2 separate regions of the Homo sapiens genome follow, and region 1 is linked to region 2. The links are contacts of gene promoters, found by promoter capture Hi-C in blood cells and fetal thymus (Javierre and others, 2016). All regions are on one chromosome and are shown on one strand. The core of a region is centred on a gene start or on the middle of the fragment in contact, and the rest is flanking DNA. Distances in the headings are between cores, read along the strand shown. Region 1 overlaps LOC124902669 (translation initiation factor IF-2-like). Region 2 holds the start of CREB3L1 (cAMP responsive element binding protein 3 like 1).

Evidence for each region. The method cuts DNA at HindIII sites, captures the fragments that hold promoters and counts their contacts. A CHiCAGO score of 5 or more calls a contact.
Region 1: a contact is called between a fragment that was not itself captured here and the fragment with the promoter of CREB3L1 in region 2, in 1 of 17 cell types (megakaryocytes). The highest score is 6.0, in megakaryocytes.

Annotation. Positions count from the first base shown.
Region 1 is chr11:46,238,514-46,244,461 of GRCh38, reverse strand. LOC124902669 (translation initiation factor IF-2-like) reads right to left here. Exons shown (of 1, transcript XM_047427965.1): 1 at 4,733-5,948. The coding sequence ends at 5,913. Among named protein-coding and RNA genes, the nearest start is that of LINC02710, 22 kb to the right of the region's middle. RefSeq lists silencers at 881-1,090, 5,058-5,267, enhancers at 169-1,102, 1,103-2,036 and a cis regulatory region at 534-1,416. The HindIII fragment of the contact is 1,141 bases long and covers 3,901-5,041 here.
Region 2 is chr11:46,273,236-46,279,427 of GRCh38, reverse strand. It overlaps CREB3L1 (cAMP responsive element binding protein 3 like 1), which reads right to left and starts at 1,766. Exons shown (of 12, transcript NM_052854.4): 1 at 1,215-1,766. The coding sequence starts at 1,316. LINC02489 (long intergenic non-protein coding RNA 2489) reads left to right here and starts at 5,001. Exons shown (of 3, transcript NR_183622.1): 1 at 5,001-5,047. The HindIII fragment of the contact is 5,299 bases long and covers 1-4,924 here.

The sequences.
Region 1 (5,948 bases), core at 3,222-5,721, 38 kb after region 2:
CACGCGCCACTATGCCCAGCTAATTTTTGTGTTTTTAGTAGAGATGGGTTTTACCATGTTGCCCAGGCTGGCTGACCTCCCAAAGTGCTGGGATTACAAACATGAGCCATTGTGTCCAGCAATTACCAGAGTTTTTCACCAAATGTGGTAGACGAGACAATTTAGCATATATATATATATATATATATATATGGCTGGTCAAGTGAAGCAGTGTGAGTGGAGAAGAAAAGAAAAAAGAAAAGAAAGAAATCTGTAACTGAATGTGATCAGTTAGTTGCAAACACCACTGCACTCGGACCAGCCCATATATATATTTTTTATTTTAATAGTTTTGAATTTATTTTCAGCCTGTAGCTTTGCTAATGTTATTGCTTAGGGCAAAGCTATCTAAAAAAGGGAAACGGTTTAAAGTTAAAGAAAAAGTTAATAAAATAAAAGTCTATTAAAATATATAATAGTGGTGGAATGTGGACATGGAAGCAAACCGTGAAGGCAATATCCGAACAGCTGAAAATTTTGGAAAATAATCGGTGACGTCTCCTGCTCATAAAACCTAAAACAGATGAGCGAGGCAGAGGAGATACTGACAAAGGAGGTATCAAAATCTTGCCTCCTTTCCGCCCCGTAGCCACAATGCCTCCCTTCTTAAGAAAGTGTGTGGTGTGAGGGCCCAGACCCGCGAGGCTTGACTGTGCTTCCGAGCTGTGGATCCTGGACAGTGCTGCGGATCGGGGGCGCAGGAGAGGGACGCCGAATCCAAAGGCCCAAGTCTGGAAACCGAAGCCAACTTCCCAACTTCGCTCTGCCGGTGCGTTTGGGGAGATTTGGGCCTCTCTGATTTTTTTGGATCACTGGGTCAATCAGTCAGCCAATGCCTCGGGAGAAGTTTAATTAAGCTCAGATCGCAGGCGCGAGCTGCCAGAGGTCTCCCTGGCCGACCGGCCCCGCCCCCCGCACATCTGGTGAAAAGCTCCCCCTCCGCCCTTTGGGGCGGGGCCGCAGCCCGCGCATGCGCGTCGGCCCGGTTCCCGGCGCCCCGCAGCAGGACTCAACTCCCAGAACAGCGTTGCAAACTGTTGCATCAGACAGCAAGCAGCCGGTCGGGCTGCCAGGGTTTCTAGGAAGATAGGAAGGGTTTGAGATCCTCTGTGGTCGCCTGGGAGCTTTGGCTGTCACTCACGGTGTTTACATGCCGGTAACGCGATCCCCTAAAATATCAAGCTTGCACCCATCAGAGGAGGGCCATAGCCACAGGTGAAATTCCCTGAACGCCATTGCTCCTGTCCTCACTCCACGCCCTGACCCAGGCGGGACTAACTGAACTGGACTTCGTCTGCTTTATTAATGGCAAGGGCCCTGAAGGAATCAGCTGGGTTCGATTTCTCTTCCCAAGTACAAGAATGCCCCCTGAGGAATTTCTCACTCTGTGAAAGTGCAGAACTAATTTCCCCTGACAAGTGCTATTGCCGGTTCCCAAAAGGGTTTGGAAGGATCCCAGCAGAAATGTTCAGTGGTTTCCAAATCTCTTTACCCCAGCAGCTGGACACACAGACCCTGAGCTAGGAGCCCCTTTGGGCATCCAGAACTTCTTGGTGGGTGGACACACGTCCTTGACACATAGGTCTTCCTTTTGTCGTATCTCAGGCCCCTTGTTATGAAGACTTTGGATATTAGCCAGAAAATGCACAACCACAAATTCATGCACACATATATATTGAGCAGCACACATATACAATGAGTTCTCTGGGTCCAAATGGCTTTAGCAACTCAGGTCAGTGGAAAAGTCGTTCTTACGTTCCCTCACTCTTCCGGCCTCTGGGCCATTCTTCCTCAAAGAGAGAAAATAATGCTGTATCTAGAAGGGATAGGACAAGCTAAGCTGGTGGGTGGGATATTCAAGAAGAATGAGAGCACTGATTTGGAATCTAGTTTTTAAAGGGATTTTCAAGGACATAATCTGAATCCCATGGCTCAATCCTCTTTTTTTTTTTTTTTTTTGGAATGGGTCAAGACCAAGATCATTCAGTATTAATGGATTTTCCAGAAAGACAAAAACTGGCAATTTACCTTGAGCATTCTGCATCTTTAGGGTGTTGATGGTGAAAGTCTATTCCCTGTGAATAATTCTGAGAACTAAAACAGGCCTAATGTCTTCCTTCCCCTTCATTATTATCAATCACTCGATCCCAAGATTAAAAAAAAAAAGACCCAAAAGACTCATAAGCATTATTCGATGCGTCCCTTGCCAGACAGTCACTGTTGTTTGTTTTAGCTAGCATTTTCCTGTGAACAGTGGAGTATTATGTCACTATGGGATTCTCATTGTAATAGATGTTTCATAAATATGACCTGAATTATTTCAGTTGTCACAGTGTTCTTATGAATGGAAGGAAAGCCAACTAGGAAAGGATGGGACGGCATTGGCAGGTCCTGGAGCTAGAACATTCCCAAGTTCTGCTCCTGAAGGTCCATCAGGATCCAAACCTGCCAAATGGGTACCCCCAAGGTGGGGTTCTAAAGTCAGCAGGTATGGTCTCAGGAAGCTGCCCGGAGCTGATAGAATGTCAGATGTGTCTGGTCAGGCATGGTGGCTCATGCCTGTAATCCCAGCACTTGGGAGGTGGGCGGATCATCTAAGGTCGGGAGTTCGAGACCAGCCTGACCAAAATGAAGAAACCCTGTCTCTACTAAAAATGCAAAATTAGCCGGGTGTGGTGGTGCATGCCTGTAATCCCAGCTACTCGGGAGGCTGAGGCAGGAGAATCCCTTGAACCCAGGAGGCTGAGGTTGCGGTGAGCTGAGATGGTGCCACTGCACTCCAGCCTGGGCAACAAGAGTGAAATTCCGTTTCAAAAAAAAAAAAAAAAAAAAGTGTCTGAGTAGTTGTTCCCACATGGAGAAGCAAGTCAGTTACTATGGTGGAGCCAAACCTGAAAGTTGGAGCCATGAAGAAAGGAGCCAGGTGGAGGTGGGAACAGGAGAAGGTGAGCCCATGAGCTCATGCTAGGTTCTCTGCTGTCCTCCCAGCACCTACATATAATGGGCTCTCAATACATGTCTGTGGAGTGAAGGTACTGAAAGAAGGAGGGAAGAAGAAGCAGACTGAGGAAAGGGCAAAGAAGTCCAATAATTTTGCAGGAGGCCACCTGGGATGGCCAGGGTATTGGGTGAAGAGGGGGAATTCTTCCAGTTTAAAGGCACAGGGCAATACAGTCAGAACTATTAAGTGACAAGTCCCATGACTTTGTTTTCCTCGTTTGGAAAAACCTCCAGTTGGTGGTTCCAGAGCTGAGCAGTCATTCTACTTCACCAAGCCTAGTGACATCATCACCTATTGCCTCACCTTGATTGAATTTCCAGAGCAAATTTCTGGAAAAGGGAGGGGTCTGAGGAGTGACTGAGATCTAGAGGACAGGAATATCACCCCAGAAGCAACACTTCAAAACCATAAGCAGGCCGGGCGTGGTGGCTGATGCCTGTAATCCCAGCACTTTGGGAAGCTGACGTGGGCGGATCACCTGAGGTCAGGAGTTCGAGACCAGACTGGCCAACATGGTGAAACCCCATCTTTTCTAGAAATACAAAAATTAGCCGGGTGTGGTGGCAGGTGCCTGTAATCCCACCTATTCGAGAGGCTGAGGCAGGAGAATCACTTGAACCCAGGAGGCAGAGGTTGCAGTGAGTTAAGATTGTGCCATTACACTCCAGCCTGGGCTACAAGAGTGAGACTCCGTCTCAAAAAATAAATAATAATAATAATAATAAATAAAACCATAAGCAACGTGGTAGCCCAGATGGTCAGATGATGCAAGCATGTACTAAAAGGGTGATTTGTTTTACACATTCATTGGGCACTCACAGATTCTAGACACTATACCAAGCCCAGACCCAGACAAAGCTTCTGCCCTAAGGGCTTATGATCTAAATTCCTTGTGGAAAGTCTGTTTTTGAAATGTTTAAGGCATCTCATTTAATCCTCATTTCCATTTCAAGTCATGTACCTCCTTCCTGAGAAACCCACCACATTTTAAGTTTGTAGCTGGCTTTCCTTCTGTTTTTGCTATTTATGTGCCAATTTAAAGGGTGGGGAGAGCCACATTAATTTTAAAATAAAACACAAATAGCAAAATGAGGCTTGGTTAAAGGAAAAACCACAAAAGGGATTTTTTTTTTCTTTCTCCCATACTTTTCAGATTTTCCTAGAACCACCTTTATTTTCTCAGAGCCCAGACATAGAAAGTGAGTGGGCCTCTCCGGATGCTCTTCCAAGCTAAAGCCAAAAGCCTCATTCTTATTCTCTCCTTGCACCTTTAGGTTTTGTTTTTCTGTTCAACATCTGAGTCCCACATTGGGGACTCAAGCTGGTCAAGCCTCCCATGACATGTGGTATTTCTATGCACTCTCAGCGTAGATTTTGATTTGTTTTTCATGATTTGCATCTTACCTCTTCTGTTCAGTTGTTTCAGCGTGTACATTCTGGGTGATGAGAACATAGCTTTAAAGTCAGACACTCCTGGGAAGAATCCCAGCTTTGCCACTTACCAGCCTTGTGACCTCATCCATCAAACAGCAATCATCATCCACACCTCTTAGGGCTGTAGTGAGGATTAATGAGTCAAAGCACATAAAGGGCTCAGCGCAAAAGAAGCACTCTGTACTCGGTAGCTATTATGAAAATAGATCCTTTCATCTGTGTGCGCCTACTTAACCAACCCTCCCCATACCCACCGTATTTTGGAGAAGAGAAAAATTAGTCATTTATTCCAAGTAGATGATGTATCCCTATTTTAAATCACCAGAGGGCGAGAAGGGGAAGCAAGGCTGAATTTGACTTGCAGACATCTAGGCCTTTTAATGGGATGGGAATCAGTGTCCGCGCCTCTCAGCAGATGACAAAACCCGCTGTGCAGGGACTGGGGAAGTCTTGAAGGCCAGTGGTGGGATGGCAGGAGCACAGAAGATGGGGAAAAGTGGTCAGGGAAAGCAGGTCCAGGGCTGAAATGGTGGGCCTGAGGGATGGCAGCCACCAGGAAGGGAAGCTTCTTGCTTCGGGGTTCTGAGTCCAGGCGTCTGCAGGCCGACGTCAGCCTGCCCCGAGGTCCCAGTGACAGTGAGATCCAAGGCGTGTGCGGCAGCGCCCTCTGCCGGCCGCGCGGGGCAGGCGCCCAGCCCAGAGCCCGGCCCCGCAGTTCTGCAATGGGGACTCCAGTTCCCTCCGGCTGCCTCCGCCCCCGCTCCATCCCGACTGAGGACCGCGGACCCGTCCCGGAGTAGATTCCCGGAGACGCCTCCCTATCCTACGCCTGCGGGCTGAGCGGGGACGATGCTCAGACACACCCAATTCACCAGCGGATCGGAGGCCGCAGGAACCCATCCAAACCCCGCAGGGGCTGCGCCTCTGGGACCCAGGGCCAGACCCTGCTGGGCTGTCGGAAGTGGCATCGCCTATGGCCAAGACCGCGGGTTCTGCGTACAGAAAGGAGCCCTGGGTTCGCTTTCTGTCTCGTCCATTTTCCAGCTAGGTGACCTTGGGCAAGGTATTATACTTAAATTTCCATGTGCCTTAGTTGCCTCATCTTTAAGATGGACAGAAGGATCCCGTCCTTAGTGGGTTGACATGAGGATGGCATGGGGTCCGACAGCCGCGGTTGGAATTCTGGCACTGACATCAGCTAGCTGTGTGCCCTGGGGCAAGTTACTTAACCTCTCTGTGCCCGGGTTTCCTGCAAAATAGGGATGATAATGGTACTTACCTCCGAGGGTTGTTGCCTGCAAAGCGCTTAACACAGCACCTGGCACAGAGTAAGCGCTCAATAAATGGTGGCTACTATGGCTGTGGTCGTTATTATTGTTCCTAAAGGCGCTGAGCACACGAGTGGAGCTCTAGCTGGCAGCTATTATTAGTCTGTTTCTTAGGTCCAGCTATTTCTTTCCGGGCATTGTTCAAA
Region 2 (6,192 bases), core at 517-3,016:
GTGACCAGGATGTGCTGCTTAATGGAGAACAGGGAGACCTCAGCCCCCATGCCTCCTTGACTCCGGCTCCTGTCCCTTGGCCTGGTTCCTCACCATCAATCTAGTGGCCTGGGACAGTTTAGGTGGAAGTCCAAGATGCTCAAGTCCTCTAAGGACTTGACTCTTGCCTGGCCAAGTTTATCTTGGTCCTGGGAGGTAGAGGTCAGCAGGTAAAGAGTCTCAAGTGCTTGATCACAGGGTGTGTGTGTGTGTGTGGCGTGTGAACAGGCATGCACACGCAACTGGTGGTTCACTGAAGAGGGGGCTCCCACTAGACTCCCCAAACAATCCACATTTCATCTGGGCAGGCCCTTCTGAACCCAAATATTTTCTCCCATTCTAAGTCCGTGCCCCTCCCCCATCAAGGCCTTAGGGCTGAGCCTGAGAGAGGGAGGGAGGGAAGAAGAGAGAGAAGCCACGTTTCCTTAGGGAGGGAGGGGAAGAGTGAGAAAGAGGAGAAAGACAAGCTCACAGTCGGACCTAGTCAAGAAGACATAGGGAGAGGGAGAAAGTCAGCCAGACTCCAGGAACAGAGGGACAGAGCAGAGATCTAGAGGCAGATGGAGAGAAATGGCTCCCTCCTCCTGAGCCATCACCCTATGTTGCCCTGACCGCCTCTTCCCAGCCCCCAGCCTCAGGTCCCTCCCTGGGGTGGGGGGTCTCTGGGCCTGATTCCCTGGGGCTGCCAGGGTAGCACCCTGAAATTTCTGGGCCTGGCTTCCCCGAGGGGTCGGGTCTCAGGCCCTCTGAACGTTCCCCGGTGCGCCCCCCAGCGGAGATCCAGCCTATGAGCCACCGAAGCCCCAAGGGAGGCGCAGGAAAGGGCGCTGCCACTTTGCGCCCAGTCTGGTCCTGGAACCTGGGGTGGGTTGGGGACGGCTAGAAGACGTGGGTGGAGGGCGGGATTGGTGTCTCTTGAGCTCAGATCCGAGGATCGGACGGACCCGATACCTCGATGGCCCCTTCCCCCTAGAAGGTGGAGGCCAGTGTATTCAAAGATTGAGCCCCCAGGAGGGGCGCTTAGCTCCAAACACATGTCGCTCCTGGAGACCCTGCGCTGAACCCTCTCCCCGGCTCCTGCCCAGTGATGTGTAGTCGGGTCCTTCTAGGGGCCCAGGCGCGCCGCGAGGACGGGTGCCGAGGGGTGGAACGGGAACGGAGACCCTTCATCTTACCGCATTGTTGAGGAAGTCCGACTCGTTCAGATCCCCCAAGTCCAGGAAGCTGGATCCGGGGAACAGCCTGTCGGCCGGGAAGGGTTCCAAGACGGCGTCCATCGCAGCCGGCTCCCGGGACCCCCTTCCACTGGGCTTCCCTCACTCCAGGGCGGCGGCGCGCCCAGTCCAGAGCTCCTGCCTGAGCGCTGGCAAACGGGCGGGGGGCAGGTCCGGGGCGAAGCCCCGGGGGAGGGGCGGACGGAGGCGGCGCGGCCCCGGGTGGGGGGCGCGGGGCGCGCGGGGGCCTTAGGGCAGCGGCTAGGAGCGGGATGGGCTCAGGGGCCCCGGGCGCACCGTGGGCATTCAGCCGACTCCACCTCCTCCTGCTCCTCCTGGGGCACAGCTGGCTTCCATGGGGAGCCCGGGGTTGGGGCTGAGGGCTTCAGGAGCCCCCCGGACAGGGTGGGAGCCGGGGCGGGGGAGCTAAGTGCTCCCCCGAGACTGGGTGGCTGCCGGCCTCTCCTCTGTCTCTGCGTCTCCCTCCGCACGTCTTCTGTCACTTTCCTCTCTGTGAAACCGGGAACCCCTGGCTGGCTAGCCCAGCTGGCCAAGGCGCCACGCCCCCACATCAATATTCACAATAATTTAATATTAATGAGAAGAGGGCGTGGCTCGAGGAATCCTCTCTCCTTTTTTAAAGAGACATCTGCAACTTCGTCTTAGTAATCTCTCTTCTCTGAATGCTCAAGGTGGGGGCTTAAAGCAACAATAGTCCTGGAACCGATAACAGTGTTCCTGGAACATTGGCATTTTAAGGCTTCACCAACCACTGTCCCGTAAATTGATGAGGGAGCTATTTCCATCCTTCCAGCCTTATACTAAAGCCTGCACGAAACCCAGTCAGGGAATTCCATTTCACAGTCCCCTCAACAGATCTCCCCTCAACGGGGGAGATTTTCAGCTTTTTAAAAATTTTATTTATTATTATTACTATTTTTTTGACACGGAGTTTCGCTCTTTTTGCCCGGGCTGGGGTGCAATGGTGTGTTCTCGGCTCACTGCAACCTCCGCCTCCCAGTTTCAAACGATTCTCCTGCCTCAGCCTCCTGAGCACCTGGAATTACAGGCGCGCCCCACCACGCCCAGCTAATTTTTGTATTTTTAGTAGGGACGGGGTTTCACCATGTTGGCCAGGCTCCTCTGGAACTCCTAACCTCAGGTGATCCGGCCTCCTTGGCCTCCCAAAGTGCTGGGATTACAGGTGTGAGCCACCATGCCCAGCCGATTTTCAGCTTGTAACTCTCATTTCTCATCTCACCTGTTTCTTCTTCCAGGAAGCCTTCCCTGAACCCCCAGGCTGGAGCAGTTACCAACGGTATACACCCACAGGGCATCATGTGCTCACCTCCACTGTTTCCAGTCTAATGTGGTATTGTCCTTATTTGCTCACATTGTTTGTATCTGTGACCCCACTGAGCTGTGAGGCTCCTCAGGGCAAGGACAGTCCCCAGCTTCCCTCTGTGTGAAAGGGCTGGGTGAACAGCCAGAGATAGGAGAGTCCCCCTCTTCTCCTCGATAGTCAAGTCCCTCCCTACCCCCCAATGGTTCTGAAGAGCAGGAAGTTGGAAAACAGTGGTTCTGGAATCTGAATGAGCCAAGGTGCTGGCTGGCTGCACACTCCACAGTCACCAGACACTCCCAGGGCCCCGGGATCCATTACCTAAGTGGCTTGCTCCTGCGTACAAACTTAATCTCTTGAAAGGGCTGATAGCAATCGCCAAGCACCTGAACAAATGGAGGTGGTTCAGAAAGGCACTCCCTCAGAGGGCTGGGCACACTGTTTCCTGACCAGAAGTTATTAATAAGATTAAGCATGTCCTTTCTGTCTGGGACGTTTAATTAGCTCAGGAACCAAAGGCCTTTAAGAGGTAGAGATGTCATTGCAGCTAAGCCATGGATGTCACCAAAATTGCTCTCAGCACCAGGTGGGAGAAGGGTTCATACCAAGGCTGAGACAGCAGTTGTTTGCTTCCCTGGCAGGCAGGCAGTCACGTGGCTTTTCCCCACCTTATGATCTAGTTGACATAGTTCTGGAGAGTGAAGTTCTGACCTTCCAGGCTGTCACATGACTGTTAGCTCCCAGGCCTCCTGTAGAATTTGCTCCTGAGAAAGTAGGATTATAACCCATGCTCTGGGGACCAGTTCACCAGCCATGCAACTCCGAGAAGTAAGGCTGGGCCAAAAAGAAATCAATTCACTTTCACAACAGTGGCGGGTAGAATTAGGGTGCTGGGACCATGGGTGTCTTCCCCAAATGCGTCACATCTGGCCAAATGGGGACCATTCAAACACTGGGATGTGGCTGATACTTCTCAGGGGGAGGGGAGGGGTCTCTGGCTGGGTGAACAGGCTATCGTGAGTGAGCTCCAGCAGCAGGTGTCTGGAGTCCTGGCTACTAAGCTATAGTCCCTACAGGCCCCCAGGAGGAGAAAAAGTGGCCCCCCGCCTGAGGTTGGCTGGAAATTGTGCCTGTGTTCCTCCCAGCCTGCTCTGTAATTAGAGACACAGGTACCATTTAAGTGATTGGGGAAGATTATATAGTTTTAGATAAGTAGGATTAGAGTGTCCTCTCTTTCCTTATTCTTACCCAGGTGAACACCCCAGGAAACCATTGAAAATAATCCTGGGGAGCCATTCTGGTTCCAGCAGCTTCTGCGGAGTCTGAGAGGCAGAATCTCCCAAGAGAAATCCTGGGGAAAGGGGTGGCAGGGGGAGGAGGGAGACCAGGCAGTGTAGAGCCGGGCACACAGAGGAGTGTGATCATTTTCTTTCTGGAATGAAGAGGATGGCAAAGTCCAGCAGAGATGAGGATGATCGCAGATTTATTCACACATTCTACAAGCATTATTGAGTACCTACTGTGAATGGTTCCGAGACTAGGCACTGGAGACACAGCAGTGATTAAGAACCTGGATCCCAGAGTAAACGTGTTTGTACAGAGGTGGGTGGGTAAAAAAATGTTAAGAAGATGATTTCAGAGAGTGGTAAGGACTATGAAAAAATAAAATAGTGTGATGTGACTCTTTGGGTAAGGAAGGCCTCTCTGAAGAGGCCACATGTGAACTGAGAACTGAATCAAGAACTGGGGTCATTTATGGGGCAAAATGCAGGGAAAACATTCTAGGCAGAGGGAACAGCAAGTAGAAGAGAAAGAGGAGGAAGGCCGGACTGGGAAGAACAGGCAGTGGCGCAGGAGTGAGATGATGAGGGCGAAACCCCAATGCCCTACACAAACCCCGTACTTATGGCCACACTGAAGCCCAGGCTCTATTCTGTGCCAGGACTGGAAAGAACTGTGCCCACCTAAAGCCTTCTGTAGGGTGTGGTCAGTCACACATCCCTTCTCTCTTGTCTATTAAAGATTTTCCAGGAGATGAAATGAGATGTCTCCCTGGGTCTTAAGTCTGCCTTCTAACCCAGCAGGGAGGGTTTGCTCCCTCCCTCCCAGTTCTTGGGCCTGGTCCCACAACCCAACCCCCCACCAAGGCCCCTCCTTTACATCTGAAGGAGTTAGGGGATGGAGGCCAACGTTGGCTCTGCAAACACCACCTCCACAGGCCCAAATACTGCAGGTCACGAGAGGCACTGATGGCAGCTCCTTCTGTGACGGGCTCAGGAACACCTGGTTGCTGCTCTCCATGAGCTGTTCCAACTGTGAAGCAAAAGCTTCATGCATAAAGGCATCCCAACGCAGTCAATGACGCACAGGAGAAAGAGGACAGAGATAAGCTTCTTGCCTGTTCCAGACACTGAGGATCAGGCAGAGAGAGAGGCTCCTGCCAGGCTGAGCTGTGAGTAGAATGGGGTGTGTGTGTGTGTGTGTGTGTGTGTGTGTGTGTGTGTGTGTGTGTAGAGTCACTGCCCTTCGTTGGGTCTCCGTTTCCATAGCTATGAAATGGGCGAGGTGTTGATGCCCTCTAGGGTTTCATCCTCTCCAAGGATCTTCCAATGTGCCCTTTCCAGGACAGGGCCTGGGGAGCAGGGGTAGGGGTCGGGGGAGTGTGAAGGGCCTCCCCGCTCAGGAGGCCTGGTACTTTGATTATCCAGGCTTCTGCCCAGAGCCTCCAGGAGGGTGCAAGCTGGTGTTTACACTCAGCAGGCAGGCCCTGGGTGGTGATAATAAGGTCACCCAAAGTAAACTTGTCTTGTTTGCCTGGGTTGTAAAGGGAAAAATGCTTTGGCACACTCTAACAGGAACTTCTGAGAAATGAAAACATATTCATCCTGGAGATTAGACTGACTTCCGGGGTGCAGACGGGGCCCTCTGTTCTCTAGCAGCTCCCTAAATTGGGCTGCATGGCTGCTTTCCCTGTGCCCCCCACTGGGGCTGGACATGGAGCCTGAGGTGGCACTCTACCAGGAGCAGGGTGGGTTTCAGAACCCCAGCTCTCACTTAGTTTAGGGCTCTCCTTTCCACCCCTTTGGCCTGTGATCCCTTTCCACCCAACCCTGAACCATAAAAATACCGGACATTTATTAGTACTTGCTTTGTGCCAGGCACTAAATACTTTTTATCATCTTGTTTAATTCTTGGAACAAGCTTGTGAGATAAGTATCGTCTTTCACTGATTCTGAGATGCACATTTCCTCAATGTTTTAACATCTCTGAAATCAGAATGTGTCTTATGATCGATGGTCTGTCATAGTTTAATGGATGATGTTTTTTCCTTCCTGAAGTACATAAAATAGTGGTGCATCATGTAATTGATGACACCTTAGAATCAACATGATATTATTATCATCCCTAATCTGCAGATGAGAAAACCAAGGCTCAGAGAGTTTATATGACTTGCCTCTTCTCGTTTTATAGAAAACCAAGGCCTGGGGCCATCAGAGGCTTGCCTTAAGTCACCCAGCCTCATGAGGCAGATAGGACTGAAACCAGGGCCTCCCGGCTCCGCACCCAGAGCCCTTTCCACTCACCCCAGTTGAACTG